Regions from separate parts of the Homo sapiens genome. Here region 1 is linked to region 2. The links are contacts of gene promoters, found by promoter capture Hi-C in blood cells and fetal thymus (Javierre and others, 2016). All regions are on one chromosome and are shown on one strand. Each heading gives the region's core, a stretch centred on a gene start or on the middle of the fragment in contact. The rest is flanking DNA. Distances are from core to core; before and after follow the strand shown. Region 1 holds the start of MRAP-AS1 (MRAP antisense RNA 1). Region 2 holds the start of TMEM50B (transmembrane protein 50B).

Region 1 (3,963 bases), core at 967-3,466, 1.2 Mb after region 2:
TCCCTGTGCCAAGCATGGAGGTTCACACCTGTAATCCTAGCACTTTGGGAGGCAGAGGCAGGTGGATCATGAGGTCAGGAGATCGAGACAATCCTGGCCAACATAGGGAAACCCCGTCTCTACTGAAAATACAAAAATTAGCTGGGTGTGGTGGTGGGCGCCTGTAATCCCAGCTACTCAGGAGGCTGAGGCAGGAGAATCACTTGAACCAAGGAGTCGGAAGTTGCAGCGAGCCAAGATTGCGCCACTGCACCCCAGCCTGGCAACAGAGCAAGACTCAGTCTCAAAAAAAAAAAGAAAAAAAAAAGAAATGTGTCCTCCCTGGGTGGATTCTCCTGCCCGGGAAGTGCTGGGGCAGTGGACATGGCCATCTGGAGTGAGCTCTGGCCACCACTTCCCAGCTGCCTTTAACGTCATCCATAAAATGGGACAATATTGGCTCACAGATATCCTCAGGATGAAATGAGATGATGTATAAAACGACTTAAATGTGGTTACAGCGCTGGCACAAATGAAGAGTACCAAGTGATGAACCCACTGGGCAGAGGCCATGCTTTCAGATGGCACTCGCCTAAGAATGCTCTCCCCACCTCCCTCCTCCCCTCCCCCCCCCATCATGGGAAGGTGTCAGCTCCTCAGGGAATGACTCCTAAATCTTGCTGAGGATCCACTTTGCCGCCCTGAGCATTCCAGGAATGTTACCAAGTGCCTTGAGAGCATTTTCTTTAGTAAGCCATGTAGCTGGTCAGGATGTATAGTGTCATCAGTTTGCCCCTGTGAAATAGCCCAGAAGGCCTGTGCCCCCCAGGGAGCTGGGCGTGGTGGAGGCAGCCCCTGGGCTTGCCGGACCAGACCAGGGATCTTTGCACCTTCCCTGGCATAGGGCGGCTGCAGGTCATCTCAGAAGAGTAGTAAAGAAAGGTGACATCACTCGTTTATCCCTCAGATGTGTCTTGGGTATAAAAATGTGCTTAAATTGAATGTGAGTTCTAAAAACTGAAAGAAAAGAACAGATTTCAGGCTGTGCACAGTGGCTCCTGACCTCAGTGATGCCATCTCGGCTAACTGCAACCTCTGCCTCCCAGGTTCAAGCGATTCTCTTGCCTCAGCCTCCCGAGTAGCTGGGATTACAGGCACCGGCCACGATGCCCAGCTAATTTTTGTATTTTTAATAGAGACAGGGTTTCGCCAAGCTGGCCAGGCCAGTCTCGAACTCCTGACCCCAGGTGATCCACCCACCTCGGCCTCTCAAAGTGCTAGGATTACAGGTCTGGAGTTTGAGACTGGCCTGGCCAACTTGGCAAAACCCTGTCTCTACTAAAAATACAAAAATTAGCTGTGCGTCGTGGCGGGTGCCTGTAATCCCAGCTACTCGGGAGGCTGAGGCAAGAGAATAGCTTGAACTTGGGAGGTGGAGGTTGCAGTGAGCCGAGATCACGCCACTGCACTCCAGCCTGGGTGACACAGCGAGATTCTTGTCTCAAAAACAAAAAAAAAAAAATGAATTTCTTCATTGCTCTAAAGCTACCTTCCATATGTGACCAAAGGTGAGCGGAAATGGCCTGGCGAGTGTAGCCCTGGTGGGTGAGACACCACGGGCAGGGCAGGCAGGGGCGGGGAGGAGAATCAGAGGCCCCTTCAAGGTAATGTTGGGCTGTGGTATGGTTTGTCCCCACCAAAACTCGTGGAGACCTGGTCCCCAGTGTGGCAACACTGGGAGCTGGGACCTTTAAGAGGTAATGAGTTTTTTTTTTCTCTAGACTGAATTAGATCTTTTTACAAAATGAGGCCCTCACCAGAAGCTAAGCAGATGTCGGTGCCATGCTTCCTAGACTTCTAAGCCTTCAGAACCATGAGCTAAATAAGCCTCTTTTCTTCATAAATTACTCAGCCTCAGGTATTCTGTTACAGCAACAGAAAACACTAAGACGCTGTGCCAATGCGCGAGTCCACGGCTCTTCACGGGACCTGGCATGGGACGCACTGGCTCAGGGGCTCCAAGGCCACTCAGCTCTTCCTCAGCACAGTTTGGCTCATCTCTCTGCTGACCAGCTTCCTACGCTTAGGGTTTCCAGTCCCCAAGACTTCCGTCCGTAATGGACATAATGGTCTATAATGGCACCCAGCCCTAGTCCTCCTCCTGGACCAATCAGTGCAGCCCCCATAGCCACCAGGTCCATCCCTCAGGTTCTAGATTCCAAATTCCAAAGATGAGAATCTGACCAGTCCCAGCTCTTTTGCCAGGGCACACGTTTCCAAGGGCATGGGCCAGCCACTGGACAGGCCCTCTTCGGGTGAGCGATGGCAAAATATAGGGTCCCTCCTAAGAACAGTCATTAGGAGAGCAGCAGCTGTGAGGGCTGATTAGCCTAGAAGGGAACATTGGATGTGTCAGCCAATCCTCTAGCACAACAGAATTAACATAAAACAAGGTGGGTTCCAATTACTCCTTAAAACTCCTGGATTTCACCTCCAATTTAGTGGCACACAGCAGGCATCTGAGAACAGATGCTGGCCATAGGTGCCTAAGGTAAGGATCTTTCTTTTTCTTTTTTCTTTTTTTTTTCTTTTTGGAGACAGAGTTTCTCTCTTCTTGCCCAGGCTGGAGTGCAGTGGTGCAATCTCGGTTCACTGCAACCTCTGCCTCCTGCGTTCAAGCGATTCTCCTGCTTGGCCTCACGAGTAGCTGGGATTACAGGCATACACCACCACACCTGGCTGATTTTTTAAAAATATTTTCAGTAGAGATGGGGTTTCACCATGTTGGCCAGTCTGGTCTCAAAGGCCTGATCTCAGGTGATCCGCCCACCTTGGCCTCCCAAAGTGCGGGGATTACAGGTGTGAGCCCCCACACCTGGCCAAAGGTAAGGTTCTTATGTTCCTGGTGAGCTGGCCGGCAAGACTTAATGCCCATGGTGTCAAGTTGGCTTCATTTTCTTTAACAGCTTTAGTGAGATATATTTTCATTCCATGAGGTTGACTCATTTAAAGAGTACAATTTCAGTGGTCTTCAGTACATCCATAGAGTTGTGCAACCATCACCATAATCTAATTTTAGAACTTTTTGTTTGTTTGTTGAGACAGGGTCTTGTTCTATCACCCAGGCTAGAGTGCAGTGGCGCAATCACAGCTCACTGCAGCCTTGACCTGCTGGGCTCTAGTGATCCTCCTGCCTCAGCCTCCTGAGTAGCCGGGACTACAGGTGCGCACTACCATGCCCAGCTAACTTTTTGTTATTTTTTATGGAGATAGGGTCTCGAACCCCTGGGCTCAAGCGATCCTCCTGCCTTGGCTTCCCAAGGTGCTGGGATTACAGCAGGTGTGAGCTACTGGGCCTGGCTTAATTTTAGAACTTCTTTTTTTTTTTTTTTTTTGAGACGGAGTCTCACTCTGTTGCCCAGACTGGAGTGTAGTGGCACAGTCTCGGCTCACTGCAACCTCCGCCACCTGGGTTCCAGCAATTCTCCTGCCTCAGCCTCCTGAGTAGCTGGGATTACAAGTGCGTGCCACCACGCCCGGCTAATTTTTGTATTTTTAGTAGAGACAGGGTTTCACCAAGTTGGCTAGGCTGGTAACTTGAACTCCTGACCTCAAGTGATCCACCCATCTCAGCCTCCCAAAGTGCTGGGATTACAGGCGTGAGCCACCACGCCCAGCTTAATTTTAGAACATTTTTATCATCCCCAAAAGAAACCCATCAGTAGTCATTCCCCCTTCCCCGCTCTCCCCCCAGACCTAGGCAGCTGCTAATCTGCTTTCTGTCTCTACAGAATTTGATTTGCCTACTCTGGATGTTTTGTGTGAATGGAGTCATACAACATGCAGCTCTGTGTCTGTCTTCTTTCACTTAGCATGATGTTTTTGAGGTTCATGCATGTTGCAGCATGGATCAGAACTCCATCCCTTTTTATTGCTGAATACTATTCCATTGTAGGGACGTAGGTTGAGCATCCCAAACCCGAA
Region 2 (3,839 bases), core at 608-3,107:
GGGAGGACTCCACATGCATTGGGCGAGCAGGGACTGTGAGACAACAGGCTGTGGACATGTCCCCACTGCACTGTGTGAATCAGGTCGTCTGGCTGCTGTGCACAGGCACTCGTGAGGCTGCCTTCTGGAACATCAAGACCATTGCTGAGTGCCTGGCGGATGAGCTCATCAATGCCACCAAGGCCTCCTCCAGCTCCTATGCCATCAACAAGAAGGATGAGCTGGAGTGTGGGGACAAGTCCAACCGCTGATTTTCCTGGCTGCTGCCTAATAAACCAGTCTGCCCTTTGGGATGCCTCCCCCACCCCCCCAAAAAAAGTGATGAGATTTGGAAACTTCTAATTGTCCCCTAATATCTAGTTTTCCTTCCTTAGTACTGAAACCCCATTTTCCAGCCTTCTTTGCAATTTGGTGTAGTCAAGTGACTATTTTACTAGCAGAATGAAAACAAAAATGGTACATGCAACCCCCGCCCCTTTCAAAAGGTTCTTAAAGAGAGGAGAGTGTTCCCTTCTGTATCCTCTCTTCTGGTGGAATGCCAGCATTGTGACATATTTCAAAAGTAAATTATTCAGCACATATTTATTGAACACCTAGATCCTAGCCCATGTATAAGAGCTATAGGAGAACATTATCCAGGATGGCATTTTTGGTGATAATTCCATGATACAAAACCTTTTACTTCATTATGCCTCAAGTAAAATGCTTTTTAGATTTCCACTGATAATAACTCTACTTGGCTGGGCACAGTGGCCCACGCTTGTAATCCCAGCATTTTGGGAGGCAGAGGCGGGTGGATCACCTGAGGTCAGGAGTTCAGGATCAGCCAGGTGAAATCCCGTCTCTACTAAAAATACACAAATTAGCCAAGCATGGTGGTGCGCACCTGTAATCCCAGCTACTCGGAAGGCTGAGGTGGGAGGATTGATTGAGCGTGGGAGGTAAGAGGCTGCAGTGAGCCAAGATCACACCACTGCACTCCACCCTGGACAACAGAGCAAGACCCTGTCTCAAAACAAACAAACAAACCACCCAAAAAACAAAGCTCGACTTTCCCCCAAACAACTAAATGGTTATAGGCATTTCTGTAGGAAATTTAGACGGGGCTTCCAAACGCTGTTAAAGTTATGTTGAAAATCCAAGAGGCTGAAAGATATCTGACTATAAGAAAGACGAAAAAAAAAAAAAAAGACAAAAATCTACGTGAATAGACGGGAGAGCGCCGAGCGAAATCAGAAGACTAGTTGTATTGTGAGGATCACCTCGGGTAACCAGCACTCGCTGGGTAGCCCTGGTTTACTAACTTCAACTTTCTGGGGCTCCATTTCTGAATTGAGGGGATTAGAAAAAGGCATCTCTAAAGACCCTCCGTTCCCGAGAACCCTCCCGGAGCACCTTCCCTACTCTGGGCAGCTCGCAGACAGACAAGACTGATCGGCCATAGGCGAAGGGAAACCCTGGTCCCCCGGGTCTCGAGCTCCGTCCGCACGTAATCTCACGGTACTGCACTTCAAGTCAGCGTGCAGAAACGCAGCAGTGGGAGCCCGGCGGCGGCCGCCCACCGGCAGGGGACAGGAGAGGCCCGTCCCGCTCTGCCCGGAACCGTAGATAGCTGGGTCTGAACTCCGGCTCCGGGAGGCCTGCAGAGCAGCCCACCCCGTCCCTCGGAGCTCGCCCTGCCCCCGGCCGGCCACTTGCTGCACGCCGATTGGTCGCGAGGAGCGCCCGGCGTCCCGCTGCGCCCAGCCAACGCCCTCTCCCCGCCCCCTCGCGTCCCGCCCCGCCCCCGGCCGGCCACTTGCTGCGCTCCGATTGGTCGCTGCGGTGCACACGGCGCCTCGCCCCGCCTCACCGGCGCTCTATCCTCGCGTCTGCTCCCAGCTCCGGGCTCCCGGGGCTGAGGTGGAGCCGCGGGACGCCGGCAGGGTTGTGGCGCAGCAGTCTCCTTCCTGCGCGCGCGCCTGAAGTCGGCGTGGGCGTTTGAGGAAGCTGGGTGAGTCCTGTCTGTGGGTCTCCGGCGCCAGGCAACCGTAGAGGGCTCGCGCCCGCCGCCCGCGCGTAAGGAGGCTCCCTCGTCGGGCCCTGTCCGGCCCGGCCTTCTGGGGGCTGTGGGGCCGTCCAGCCGGGTTTTCCCTGCGTTCGGCGCCGGCCTGCAGACTCGGGCCCGCGGAGCCCCCGCCGCCCCTTCTTGCCCCTGCCCGCGTCCCTTCGGGCCGACCGTGACCGTGGCGCCGCCGCGACCCGCAAGCAGCCCGGGGAGGCTGCCCTGCCGCGCTGTCACGCCGTCAGGTTGCGTTCCTGGGGAGGGCTGGAGAGGCTCCATCTCGTGCCTTTCACCTTCTCGCGCGGCGGGCACGGAGGCGACGGTTTTCGGGACGCCCTGCTGCGGCCGCGACGCCCTCCCGAGGCCGGAGCGAGGGCCCCGGGGCGGCTCCAGCCCTTCTTCGCCCCTCCCGTTTGCCCCGAACCATTGCTAGGAGCCTGTGTTTTCTGCACTTTTCTGATTTCATTCTTACGAGAGTCAAGTACAGAGGCGGGAGGGGAAAGGGAAGGGGAACAACATTCTTTCGAGAATTATAAACCTTGAGCTCCGTTAAATAAGTAGCAGCAGAGCATTGTCACTGGAGCAGTGGTAGTCGCGGGTAGGACCGTTTCGGTTTTTAGCCAATAGGCTGGTTAAAGGTACTTAAAACAGTAAGTTGGAAGGTGCTGAAATTCTAAGGTAAATACGTGACCTTTCAAAACCAAAGCAGTGAGACGGGCTAGGCTGGGCTGCTCCCCGCTGCGCGTGCCTGGGTCGGGGGGTGCGGAGGGGCAGGGGGCGGAGGCCTCGGACGGGACGGGGTGGGAGGGAAGTGGCATCCGCATCGTCTTACATCGCGCTGTAAGACCCGATTTTCTCTTTTCGGAGGATCCCATCTCCCTTCTCAGACTCTTCATCCTACCTGCACTGTGGATCCCTTGACACTTCAGAGGCTCTGAACTCTCAGGCCGGTCACACTTTTTCATCATTTTGTTTCTTGTCTTTTAAACCTGCATGCATTTCAAACGTAGAGCAAACATTAAACTTTTTTTTTAAACTGAAGATAGTGGTGCAAGACTTTGTTATTGAAATGCAAACCAAAAGTTATCTTGAATATTTATCGCGCTGGAAAAGCAGGTTTAATTAGAGTGAGGTGGGGACGTATATTTCTTCTTCCGGAGACACAGCCTTCCCACTCACCACCCCAATCCCTCCTCTCTGTCAACTAGGGTTACAGCAGCCTTACACTGGCTAGTCTTTTCTGAATTCTGAATTCACTTCTGGGGGCCAAGGTAAAGAATTTATCGTATTTTATCCTCATTTTCCTTTTCTGTTTTTTTTGAGACAGAGTCTCCCTCGTTGACCAGGCTACAAGTACAGTGGCCCGATCTCTGCTCACTGCAGCCTGCACCTCTAGGGTTAAAGGGATTTTACAGCCTCAGCCTCCCGAGTAGCTGGGATCACAGGCGCCTGCCACCATGCCTGGCTAATTTTTATATTCTTAGTAGAGAGAGAGTTTCACCATGTTGGCCAGGCTGGTCTTGAACTCCTGACCTCAAGTGATCCGCTTGCCTCGGTCTCTGAAAGTACTGGGATTACAGGTGTGGGCACCGCGCCTGGCCTTTTAAAGTGTATTATTATTATTTTTAAATTTATTTATTTATTTATTTTTTGAGACAGAGTCTTGCTCTGTCTCCCAGGCTGGAGTGCAGTGGCAAGATCTCGGCTCACTGCAAGCTCCACGTCCTGGGTTCACGCCATTCTCCTGCCTCAGCCTCCCTAGTAGTTGGGACTACAGGCGCCCACCACCACGCCC

Evidence for each region. Contacts are between HindIII fragments. The CHiCAGO score rates a contact against its expected background, and 5 or more counts as called.
Region 1: a contact is called between the fragment with the promoter of MRAP-AS1 here and the fragment with the promoter of TMEM50B in region 2, in 1 of 17 cell types (activated CD4 T cells). The highest score is 5.4, in activated CD4 T cells.

What each region holds. Positions count from the first base shown.
Region 1 is chr21:32,306,988-32,310,950 of GRCh38, reverse strand. It overlaps MRAP-AS1 (MRAP antisense RNA 1), which reads left to right and starts at 2,216. Exons shown (of 2, transcript NR_187556.1): 1 at 2,216-2,432. The region is part of intron 2 of MRAP (melanocortin 2 receptor accessory protein); the gene reads right to left. The HindIII fragment of the contact is 11,077 bases long and covers 1-3,963 here.
Region 2 is chr21:33,477,992-33,481,830 of GRCh38, reverse strand. TMEM50B (transmembrane protein 50B) reads left to right here and starts at 1,857. Exons shown (of 7, transcript NM_006134.7): 1 at 1,857-1,993. It also overlaps the pseudogene RPS5P3. The HindIII fragment of the contact is 5,416 bases long and covers 1-3,839 here.